Regions from separate parts of the Homo sapiens genome. Here all the other regions are linked to region 1. Evidence: promoter capture Hi-C in 16 types of primary human blood cells and fetal thymus (Javierre and others, 2016). All regions are on one chromosome and are shown on one strand. Each heading gives the region's core, a stretch centred on a gene start or on the middle of the fragment in contact. The rest is flanking DNA. Distances are from core to core; before and after follow the strand shown. Region 1 holds the start of DRC11 (dynein regulatory complex subunit 11). Region 2 has its middle 24 kb from the start of COPS8. Region 3 holds the start of LOC105373950 (a long non-coding RNA gene).

The links. Contacts are between HindIII fragments. The CHiCAGO score rates a contact against its expected background, and 5 or more counts as called.
Region 2: a contact is called between a fragment that was not itself captured here and the fragment with the promoter of DRC11 in region 1, in 2 of 17 cell types (neutrophils and monocytes). The highest score is 7.0, in neutrophils.
Region 3: a fragment that was not itself captured here is called in contact with the fragment with the promoter of DRC11 in region 1 in 12 of 17 cell types (M2 macrophages, M0 macrophages, M1 macrophages and 9 more); the score reaches 33.7 in M2 macrophages.

The regions. Positions count from the first base shown.
Region 1 is chr2:236,505,654-236,509,658 of GRCh38, reverse strand. It overlaps DRC11 (dynein regulatory complex subunit 11), which reads left to right and starts at 2,183. Exons shown (of 19, transcript NM_024726.5): 1 at 2,183-2,402. The coding sequence starts at 2,392. RefSeq lists a silencer at 2,008-2,057. The HindIII fragment of the contact is 24,475 bases long and covers 1-4,005 here.
Region 2 is chr2:237,107,504-237,111,508 of GRCh38, reverse strand. No RefSeq gene overlaps it. Among named protein-coding and RNA genes, the nearest start is that of COPS8, 24 kb to the right of the region's middle. The HindIII fragment of the contact is 2,175 bases long and covers 884-3,058 here.
Region 3 is chr2:237,033,767-237,037,771 of GRCh38, reverse strand. The region is part of intron 1 of COPS8-DT (COPS8 divergent transcript); the gene reads left to right. LOC105373950 (a long non-coding RNA gene) reads right to left here and starts at 1,098. Exons shown (of 3, transcript XR_007088140.1): 1 at 1-1,098. The HindIII fragment of the contact is 1,403 bases long and covers 983-2,385 here.

The sequences.
Region 1 (4,005 bases), core at 934-3,433:
AGGTTTTTCCTCTAAGTCAGTAATTCAGCTGAATTGTGCCTGGTCTATTTCTTGGTTTTTCCAACTTATTTTCTGTATTGCACTACTTCTGTTTTTCTTTTGGTTTCCTTAGCTGTGTAATCTTCCTTCCTTTCTCATTCCATTGTTTTATATTTTCTCCCAGTTCTTATTTTATTACCTTAATGTTCTTATTAGCTTATTCTATAGCATGGAGCACAAGTAAAGATTTTTCTGTTTTGGCAGGGCGCGATGGCTCACGCCAGTAATCCCAGAATTTTGGGAGGCCGAGGCGGGCAGATCTCCTGAGGTCAGGAGTTCCAGACCAGCCTGACTAACATGGTGAAACCCTGTCTCTACTAAAAATACAAAAAATTAGCTGAGCATGGTGGTAGGCGCCTGTAATCCCAGCTACGTGGGAGGCTGAGGCAGGAGAATTGCTTGAACCCGGGAGGTGGAGGTTGCCGTGAGCCGAGATCACACACTGCACTCCAGCCTGGGTGACAGGGGGAGACTCCATCTCAAAACAAACAAACAAAAAAGATTTTTCTGCTTTTATTTATTTGGTTAGATTTTCTCCAGACTTTCTTTCACTTGTCTGGCCTATGTTATAATCCTTTCTTTTCTTCTACTTTTATGAAAGTCTTGGTTTTAGACAGTGGATATGCTGCTTCTTTCTGTCTTATTCCTATTTAACACGTGTTGCTCTTTGAAAATGTTCTGTTTGTTCAAATATAATGTGGGCGAATTCTCTTTGACTGTCTTCTCACTGTATCTGAGTTCCAGAGCTGAGATACTGCACTTTTCTCTGCTTTTCTGGAACCTGAGTACACATTTAGGATAAGGACTGCTCCCTTGAATCCACACAACTTCCAGGCTCTGTGCTCTCTTCTGAGATTTTGATAAGCTCCTTTACCACCATCCTCCCACTCTTGTCACGAGTGTGCCCTATTCCTGTGACAACATGCCCTTTGACTTTGAATCTTTGCCTCAATTCAATGTAGGGACCTAGAAAAAGGCAAGCCCTGGAGATTTCTCCTGTCCCTGCTCAGGTCCTGGGAGCGGTAGGGATTGACCTCCACTCAGGATGGTTTTATCTGGCCGGATTTCCCCAGGTGTTTCCTCGTTCGGCTCACCCTTTCATACCCCTTCTTTTCAGTGTGTGTATTCTTTGCATCAAAAAGCATTAATGAGAATTCTTGGTGTTGTGTCTACTTGGTCTCTGCCCCCTGAAGGGCTTTGGGAGGGTGGAGATGAGGCTGGACACCATTCTCCACGGCAAGCTGCTATTTCACTGAGTTTTTGAAGTTTACGGTACAAGGTTGTACTCAATTTCTCGTCTGAGAAATAATTTGCTCCATTATTTGAAGGCGGTGCGGAGGGCTGGCTTTTACTATGCTTTTGCGCATTTCATTAGTAATGGTGGGGGAGAGGTTTTGTGATCCTGATTATAATTTTTACCTGGATGTCCTCTCCACGCCTTTGACAGCATTAAACCTGGCGTTCCAATAGGAGCTGCAGGGTCTAAAATGTGCAAATAAACCTCAACAGTTACTAAAGTCGAAGAAAGAAGAGCAATGAAAGCCAACACTCATAGCGACTTACGGATAACTGTTAATAGCATCCACACTGCATTTTACATTTACAACGCACCCGCGCCTTAGTTCATACTCATTAAGTCTCCGAAGGGCGCGTCTGCCTAAGTCTTGGGTGCCCAGAATCTAAGTCTGCACTTGGCCCAGAATAGATGCCCAGTAAAGTTCTGAACGAACGACTGTTATACCCAGTTTACAGATGGGAAAACTGAAGACCACCATCATTAAGGGCCTTGCCCAAGGCCGCAGAGCTGACAGTGGATGAAAATGGGGCCAGCAGGAAAGCGGGAAGACGGCCTGGAGGACCACAGGCTAAGTGCTGGGGCCCGGAGCAGGCTCGCCAAGCGGCCGGGCCCCGCGACGGAGCGCTCGGACTCCGACCGGCTCCCACAGCTGCGCCCACCCAGGCCTCCCGCGGTGGCGCAGGCGCGGAATGCGGGGGGCGGGGGGGGGGAGGGGGCAGGCGGAAGGCAATGCGCAGGCGCGGCGTTTCCGTTGCTAGGGCCGCGTCGCGCCCACCTGAGTGGCCGAAGTGAGGTTCGCGAGTCTCTGGGTCGCGACGGGAAGGAGTGAAACACCTCTCTGCGCCTGCGCGCTCCGTGCCTGCGAAGCAAACCCGGCCTCACCTTTTCCTGCCCGAAGCAGAAGATTCTCGCAGTCCTGGTTTCTCCCTCCAGAAGACCCCCCACCCAAATCCTCTGTAGCTCCTGGTAGTGCCCTGACCCCTGCTGCCACCGTCCTTCAGAGAGCAACGGAAGAGCTTCCCGGAGGGCGAGGAAAAGAGGGAAAGTAGCCAGCAATGTCGAACGCGTAAGTGATGGGCTCCCAGCCACAGCCATGGAGTGGGCTTCCCCAAGCCAGAAGGTGGCTTGCTTTCTGCTTCTCTTATTTTCTTTTTTCTTTTCTTTTCTCCTCCCCTCTCAACTTCCCTCCTCTCCCCCACTTTTTTTCCTTTTAGGAAATTCAAATATGCCTCGGGATAGAGTATCTGCTTCTTGTGAGCAAGGAAAATCATACACTTAGATCTCCCCCTCCCCTACGCGTCCCACCACCCCATGGGGATGAGCTCCCAGTCTTCCGTATACCTGCCAAGCCCTTAGGGGCTATTGCTGAGAAGCACTATGCCATTTTGTCTGCTTTTTTTGTTAATCTTTCACGGTAACAAATACGGTGCTTTGTGGAAACACCTAGGTCCTGAAATTTAAGTCTAGAAAGATCTTGGGAAAGCATTATTGACATTTGCTTTTCACAGACTCGAGTGGCATTGGTACTGAAAGAAGTGTGTGCCTAGCACTGTGTCGTTTACACAGCACTTGCACAAAGTTACCTCATTTGGTCTTCGTAAGAATAATTTCCAACAGGTATTACAGCGCTGACCCTGTAGACACTGTTCTAACCGCTTCACAGCAACCCTGTAACGTAGGGGCTGTTAATATTGTTATTTCCATTTTACAGATGAGGGAACTTGGGGATGAAGAGGTGAAGTAGTTCACACAGCAAGTGAACAGTGCCAAGCCGGGCACTGTAGCTCCAGCCTGCACTGTTGCTATTACGTGCCCTGTATTCTAGGCAAGGAAATAAGAGCAGAGAGGTTAAAGGCTTGCCAGGGTTTGGAAATGGGGAAGATCAAGAGTTCTGTTTAAGACGTATTGAGTTGGAAGTGCCCATTGGACATCACGTGGAGATGAAATAGGCAATTAAAATATTCAGATCTTGGGTTCAGGAGCGAGACCCATGTCTGAAATATAAACTTGCTCACTGTCAGCCTGTGATGGTCTTTGTGAGACATAGAATGAATATTAATAAAGAGGTGTAAGGACTGATCCTGGGATCATCCACAGTAAGGCTGGGGGAAGAGGAGACCTGGCAAAGGAATCAAAGACATGATCCATGAGGAAGAAGCGAGTGGAAGAAATAATAGTGTTTCCAGGAGAAGTAACTTCTTTCTCCTCCATCAAGTGCTCCTGAGACAAGTTGGGGTAGAACTGAGAACTGACTGTTGATTTGGCAGTGTGGAGTTCACCAGTGACCTTGACAGGAGCTGATTCAGTGGTATGATGAGATAGAAAGACTTACTCAAGTGAATGTAGGGGGAGAGAAACTATAGATGGTGAGCATAGCTAACTCTTTAAAGGAGTTTTGCTGCAGAGGAAAGGAAATATGTTGGCAGCTAGAGGCAGAGGACATGGCTCCAAGACAGAAAACAATAGAATGTTTGTGTGTGGAAGGGAATGGCCCAGAATGATATAGGAGGAGGAGGGAGAAGTGGGTGACATCGTTGGTAGTGAGAGGACATGGGATCCAGGGGGTGCTGGCCTTAGGTAGAGGAACTCAGCACTTAACAATGGAACAGGTAGGAAGGCAGCATCAAGATGCTATTCAGTGGGTGGGTGCTCTGGAGGTGGCCTGGAAC
Region 2 (4,005 bases), core at 722-3,221, 600 kb before region 1:
ATGTTCTATATTTATGCTCTCAAATATGGTAGCCACATGTGACTACTGAGCATTTGATATGTAGTTGGTGCCACTGAAAAAGTGAATAATTAATTTTATTTCATTTTCATTAATTAAAATTTAAATTTAGTCAGTTGTGGCTAGTGGCCACCATATTGGACATTTCACGCTAGGCTTCAATATCTTTTCCTTATTATAATTTAACTTTACTGTATTTTACCACTTACTATATAAGACCATTACAAAAGTATATATCCATTTCCCTCTTCAATTCTTTGCACTATTGTTGTCATATATTTTACCTTTACATATTAAAAATCCTACATTATTTTTGCTTCAAATAGCTATCTTTTAAAGCAATGAAAAAATAAAGACATTTTACCCACATATTTACTATTTCTGATGTTCTTTATACCTTCATATAGATCTAAATGTATCTGATCTGATATGATTTTATTTCAGTTGGAAGAACTTCCTTTAACATGTATTTCAGTGCAGATCTCTTGTTGATGAACTCTTTAAGTTTTTGTTTGTCAAAAAAAAAGTTGTTTTTTTCCTTTGACCTTAATTTTTCAGGACATTTTTACTGGCTTTAGAATTCTAGTTTGACAGTTGTTTTCTTTTAGGCCTTTAAAGATGTCATTCCATTATCTCATTGCTGTAAATTCTTATCTTTCTTTTTATGTAATGTGTCTCCGCCTACTCTAAGATACAGCAACTCCTTTAAAATTTTAAAAAAAATTTTTATCGGTTGTCCAGCAATTTTATGATGTATTTTGTACAACATATGTGTGTGTTTATTCTAGTTAGCATTGATTGAACTTCTTGGATCTGTGAGATTATGTACTATTCATCAAATTTTTGGCTAATTCTTCAAAAAGCTTTACTTCATCTTAGCTTGTGGGGACTCTAATCACACTTGCATTAGACCTCTTGATATTAATCCACTCATTTTTAATTCTTTCTTTTCCTCTAAACTTCCTCTGAGATATATCCTGTTCCTTATAATTCATTGATATTTTCTTCTGTAGGGTCTATTCTGACATTAAAACAATCCAGAGAAATTTTCATTTCAGATCTTGTATTTTTTTAATCTGTAAAAGTTTCACCTTGGTCTTTTATATCTCTTCTATTTCTATACTCATTGTGTTTATGTTTTCCTTTATATCCTTAAACACTTAAAGTATATTCATCATATCTGTTTTATCATCTCTGTTTGCTATTTCCATCATTCCTTTCATTTCTGTGTCTGTTTCTAGTAAGTGATTTTTCTCCTAGTTATAACATTTTTCTTATTCACATAATGTCTAATAATTTTTTATTTGTTGTTGAGCATTGTGAGGTTAGGTTGTAGAGTGCTGAATTTTGAAGTATGTCTTCAAAGAGTGTTGCAACCAATTATGTAACTTGTGGATTTAGCTGTTTTGAAGCTCTTTTAAACTTTTGTACAGAAGATCTATATTTACCTTTAATTTAGGGCTAATTTAGCCCCACTACTAAGGTGTGGCCCTTCTGGAGTCTCTAGTGAACACTCCATTTAGTCAATGAGGTCTTCTTACTATAGATGAAGGGATCTTGAATGATTTCTAGCTCTTTGTTAATTTTTTTTTCTCATAGTTTTCCAGTAATTGTTCTTTCCTTGGAAGCTATTCTTGCCCACCTCATGGGATTTCACCCTACACATGAGCAGACTGGCACTCAACCAAAGACTCAAGCAGATGTCTATGCAAATATATACAACTATTTCTCTGACTAGTCCCCCACCCTTTATCAAACTCCACCCTACAAATTTTAGCTCCCTCAGCCTTTTGAATCTATGCTCTTCAATTAGTAAGATTGCCACGCTCTATTTGAGCTCCACTTTGCTGAGCTGCAGTGTTATTTGCCCCCAGGCAGAAAGCATAGTAGACTTTAAGGCTTACCTTCTTTGTTCCTCCTCTCTCCAGAATTACATCTAGTATTTCCAGTTGTCTGATGTCGGAAAATAATCATTTCCTATACTGCATGCATTTTTTAAATTTACGATGGGAGGATAATTCTGAATCCTATTAGTCCGTCAGAGCCAAAGTGGAAGTCCCTAATTCCTTTTAGTGGAAAATGCTTCTAGAAGCAAGGATCTGAGGGTTAGGTGTGCTTTTTGCTACACAGTCATCATTTTTGTGGTGATAGCACATAACATTGCTCTATACATTTTTCAAGAATACAATATACCTTGCTGTACAACAGAGCTCTTGATATTTATTCCTTCTATCTAATTGTAATTATGTATGCTTTGACCAACATGTCCCCAGACTACCTTAACCTAACTTCCCCAGGCTCTGGTAACTGCAATTGTACTCTCTACTTCTATGAGATCACCATTTTTAGATTCCACATATGGACAAAATTATGAGGTATTTGTCTTCCTGTGCTTGTTATTTCACTTAACTTGATGTCTACCAGGTTCATCCATGTTGTCATAAATTTCAGTTTTTATGGCTGAATAGTATTCCATTCCACATATATACCACATTTTCTTTATCCATGCATCCATTGATGGACACTTAGGTTAATTCCATATCTTGGCTATTGTGAACAATGCTGTGATCAACAAGAAGGGCAGATTTTTTTTAACATACTGATTTCATCTCCTTTGGATATGAACATACTATTTTACATAAAGCTGTACCATTTTACACTCCCACTAACTGTTTTTAAGCATTCACTCTTCTCCTCATCCTCATCAACACTTGTTAGCTTTTGTCTTTTTGATAATGGTCATTTTAATTGGGGTGAGGTGACATCACTTTGTGGTTTTGATTTGCATTTCCCTGATAATTTGATAATTAGTGATGCTGAGTATTTTTTCATACATCTATTGGACCTTGTATGTCTTCTTTGAGAAATGTTTATTCACGTCCTTTGCCCATTTTTTAAATGGGCTATTTGTTTTTTGTTAAGATCTTTGCGTATTTTGAATATTAGCCACTTGTCATATGTATAGTTTATATGTATTTTCTCCCATTTCTACAGGTTGTCTCTGAACTCTGTTGATTGTATCCTTTGCTATACAGAAGCTTTTTAGTTTGATGTAAGCCCATTTGTCTATTTTTGCTTTCATTGGCTGTGCTTTTAAGGTCTTATCCAAAACATCCTTGCACAGACCAATGTCATAAGGAATTTCCCGTGTTTTCTTCTAATAGTTTCATAATTTTAGATCTGACATGTAAGTCTTTAATCCATTTTTTATTTTTTATACGGTGGAGATAAGGGTCTCATTTCATCTTCCACATGTGAATATCCAGTTTTCCCAACACCATTTATTGAAGAGAATGTCCATTCTCCAAGGTGTGTTCTTAGAATCTTTGCCAAAAATCAGTTGGCTGGGCTCTCTGTTCTGTGTGTCTGTTTTTATGCCAGTACTATGAGTTTTTGGCTATTACAGCTTTGTAATATACTTTGAAGTCAGAGAGTGTGATGCCTCCAGCTTTTTTTTTTTTCTGTCAAGATTGCTTTGGCTATTTAAGGTCTATTGTGGTTCCATATCAATTTTTGGATTCATTTTTCTATTTCTGTGAAGAATGTCATTGGTATTTTGACAGGGATTGCACTGAGTCTGTAGGTCACTTTGGGTAGTATGAACAATTCAACAATATTAGTTATTCCAATTCATTAAACACAGTGTATCTTTCATGTATTTGTGTCTTCTTCAATTTCTTTAATCAATGTTCTGTAGTTTTTATTGTAGAGGTCTTTCACTTCCTTGGTTAAATTTATTCCTAAGCATTTTTGTAGCTATTATAAATGGGATTGCTTTCTTGATTTCTTTTTCAGATGGCTCACTAATAGTGTACAGAAATACTACTGATTTTTGTATGTTGATTTTGTATCATGTGACTTTACTGAATTTGTTAGTTGTAACAGTTTTTTTAAGTGAAATATTTAGGGTTTTCTATATATGAGATCATGTCATCTGCAAACAGGGACAACTTAATTTCCTTCTTTCCGATTTTGGTGCCTTTATTG
Region 3 (4,005 bases), core at 435-2,934, 530 kb before region 1:
CTTCAGGAAACCTTTGCTAGCACTAATGGACAAAGTGAGGAGGTCATGTCAGACTTATTTGCTTCCCGAGAGTCTACAAAGTCAGTTCCATGTGGTTGAAAGAGGAAACTCGTACATGTACAGTGCAGTGACTGGGTTCGAATTCAGACCTACAGAAGTCTAAATCCTGGCTTCACTGCTCTCACTATGTGACTCTGGACCGTCAGTTCCCTTATCTGTAGAATGGGAATAGCAACCCTCCTAGGGCTGTCCTGCACATCAAATGCAGTGCAGCTGCTAGCATGAAACATGCCCTCCGCTGTGACAAGCATCTGCTGAGAGTCATTGCTGCGGACACTAGCTGAAATAAAGAACAGGGTCAAACCCAGCAGGGGACACCACCACTATTGTGGAATCATTCTAGGACCTGGCACAGGATGTAGGGTTTTGTTTTGTTTTGTTTTTTGTTTTTGAGACAGAGTCTTACCCTGTCACCCAGGCCGGAATGCAGTGGCATGGTCTCGGCTCACTGCAACCTCCGCCTCCTGGGTTCAAGCAATTCTCCTGCCTTAGCCTCCCAAGTAGCTGGGATTACAGGCATGCACCACCACGTCCGGCTAATTTTTGTATTTTTAGTAGAGATGGGGTTTCACCATGTTGGTCAGGCTGGTCTCGAACCCCTTACCTCAGGTGATCCGCCCACCTCGGCTTCCCAAAGTGCTGGGACTACAGATGTGAGCCACTGCACTTGGCCAGGATGTAGGTTTTGATAAGTGCTATACTGTGAAATCGTTTAACATATTGGATTTGGAAGAGAAATGATTCATGCAGTAAAATGGATCTAAAATATCTTTTATAAGAAAAAAGCTAAGGAATGCAAAGTCTGCTTCACTGTTTCCTGGAGGGGACTGGTATTTAGCATTTTGTTGTAAATTAATGATTCTGTTAAGATAAATGTTCACACTGGATGTCACATTTCCAATCATAGTTAGTGACAGAAGCTTTTGTGTAAAAAGTACCTTCCATAGGGTGGAGGAAAAAAGACATAATGATGTTAAATAAAATTGAAAAAAGAAAAAAATGAATATTCTAAGGAAACAATGAGAAAAAATAATGAAGAAAAAATGAATATTCTAAGGAAACAATGAGAAAAAACAATGAGAAAAAAAATAAGGGATAAAAAGGCTTGTACGGAGGATACAATACAGTTACATAAGTAAACCTTACCCAAGTATCTTAAAGGCCATGGTCTCAGAATCTCATTACTCCACAAAGGGCATTACTAAAAAATTATTGTCAGAAATATCTTAGCAAACCAGTGCAGTTAGAGAAAAAACCAACTTACTGTATACTGAACACATCCAAACTGTAAATGAGCCATTACTTAGAGTTTGGATTGAACTCAAGTTCATTAGGCTTAAATGACCTTGGCAAACTTATAAAAATTACCATCAACTTTGAACAATTATTAGATGCCTAATTGCACAAGGCAGTGGATTCCTGATTTAAATAGGTCCAATTAGGAAACATGCGAAGAGGAGCCGCTCATGTGGAAAGTGAGACCCTCCCGAGGGTGGAGTCCCTGACACTTTGCAGAAAGAGCTGTGGGGGCAGCAGGGCAGGGCGGAGGTATCAGGAAAAGTTGAGAACAAGCTCGGAGGGCCGGCTGGGAAGCCGACTGTGGGTCTCTCTGGAGTCTGTCTCCCTTTGCTTATGCTAAATTATTTTGGAATTCTGGGCTTTCCTCTCTTTATGTTTTGTTTATTTATTTAAAAGAACAAAGGAAAAACAGAGCTAGAGATGTCAAGCAGAAGTCCATTCTTTCTCAGGGTGACAAATTGCCTTCACTTTCCTCCTTTCCTAGCAACATAACCCCATGACTGTTTCTTTTTGATTTCCTTAGGAAAACAATCTTTCACTTTTTATATTTCAGGGTTTTTTTTCAAGACAGGGTCTTGCTCTGTCGTCCAGGCTGGAGTGTAGTGGCGCCATCTCGGCTCACTGCAGCCTCCGCTTCCCGGGTACAAGTGATTCCCGTGCCTCAGCCTCCTGAGTGGCTGGGATTACAGACATGTGCCACCACGCCCAGCTAATTTTTGTATTTTTAGTAGAGTTGGGGTTTCACCAGGTGTCCCAGGCTGGTCTCAAACTCCTAGCCTCAAGTGATCCACCTGTCTTAGCCTCCCAAAGTATTGGGATTACAGGCGTGAGCCACCATGCCCGTCCGGAAACAATCTTTAGCTTGCTAGAATTTAATTCTGTTTTAGACCCCATATGAAGCCCCTCTTGTGATCATCCTAATGTTCTCATTATGTATTTCTCATTAAACAGGTATATCCTATGCTTTGGCTTGAATGTTTTTCCCCTCCCAAACTTATATTTGAAAATATTAATTGAAAACAAGCTTGTAGATCAGGCTGATCCTCTCAACCATCCTTTAGCATTGGGAGTACTGACGATATCATTCCCATTTCCTCCACCCCCAGCACAGCAGACATAATGGCAGTGATCAAATGCTTGCTCAGGGCCACTGGGGTAGTGTACTAGGGTGAGGACTTGGGTGGGGCCAGGTCCCTGGATTCTACCACCTGTGCTGCTTCTCCTCTGACCCACCCCATCTTCTCCAGGACACCAAGGGATTTGTGTTGCTGCTTTAATTGCTTAAAAAAAAAAAAAAAAAAAAAACCTGGATGGCTGCAACATGTATAGGTCCCCATTAGTTCATTCTTAAAACAAAAATAGGCTCTAGAATTAATTGCAATATAGTTGGCCTTTTAATCCCTCACAAAATAAATGCATTTTGACTCAAATAAAGCAATTTATTTATGCATCAGTGAAAATGTAGATGAGGGCAGTGGATTTCAAACTTCTTTAGCAGCCCAACTTTTGTACACACCTAAATACATGGATAAAGGCATAAACAAATTAGATAGACTGATGAAAATGGCCTGTATTGAGAAAAGGGGAGGGGCTGGGTCCATACTTCTACCTATCTGTTTGGTTCTCCACTGTCACACCCTGGTGGAGAAGCCACTGCCTCACTCTAGTTGAGTTTTCCCACCAGGGTTATATAAGGCTGAAACCAAGCTCGACAGAGTTGCAGCAATGCACAAATGGTGAAATGGTGAGGTCTGTATCTGTAACACACACACATGCACATAGACACACGCACACGTCTTGATATTTATGGGTCTTGAATATCAAAGGTTGCGATGAATTTAGCAATGCTCTTAAATGAGTTGATATAAAATGTCAGTGCCGATTCCTTCTTTCAGATGTGTTCGATCTTGTCATACTTGTATAGAGATAGCCAAAATTAGGCACTAAAATCACTTCCATGTGTTTTCCCTCTTCCTGCCTGTGTTTGGAATTCCCACATACGTCATCTCTGTGCCTTCTAGAACTAAGACCCCCATGAAGAGTACTTGACTGTCCACCCATTTGAGGGCAGCTTTATTCAGAGGCCAACATAGAGAGTTAGAGGACAGATAAAGCAGTCCCTCAGAGTGATTACAATGCCTGCAGAAGTCGTTTTTCCCACAACCCTTGTGCTTTAATTAAAAGTGAGCAGCAAAGTTGCCAGTGCAGCATTAGGAACATAGTATGAAGTGAATGCAGAGAGTGAACTTATTGTAGTGTTGCTGGATTTTTAGAACAGGGGAAGCTAAACATGAAGTGAGTTTCATATCAGGGAAGAAACTTGACCAAAGAAAATTCCTAGTTAATTGCTTGCTATTTGCACTGTCTCTTAATGTCTTGCAACTGAGCTTTTGTTTCATATGTCTTTGTAAACTTCTGATGATAAATATCTCCATTAGAATATATTGTATTCTCCTAAAGACTCCAAATTATGGAGAAGCTGTTCTAAATTTTATAGAGCACACAGATCCCTTTGAGGTTAGCTATTTGAGAGCCTTCTGCATGATAATAGGTGCAGTTTGATTGAAAAATACCTACTGTCAAAAGCATATGTGAGGTCATAACTTGTTGATCTCAAAGTCCTGTGAGGACACATTTACATGACAG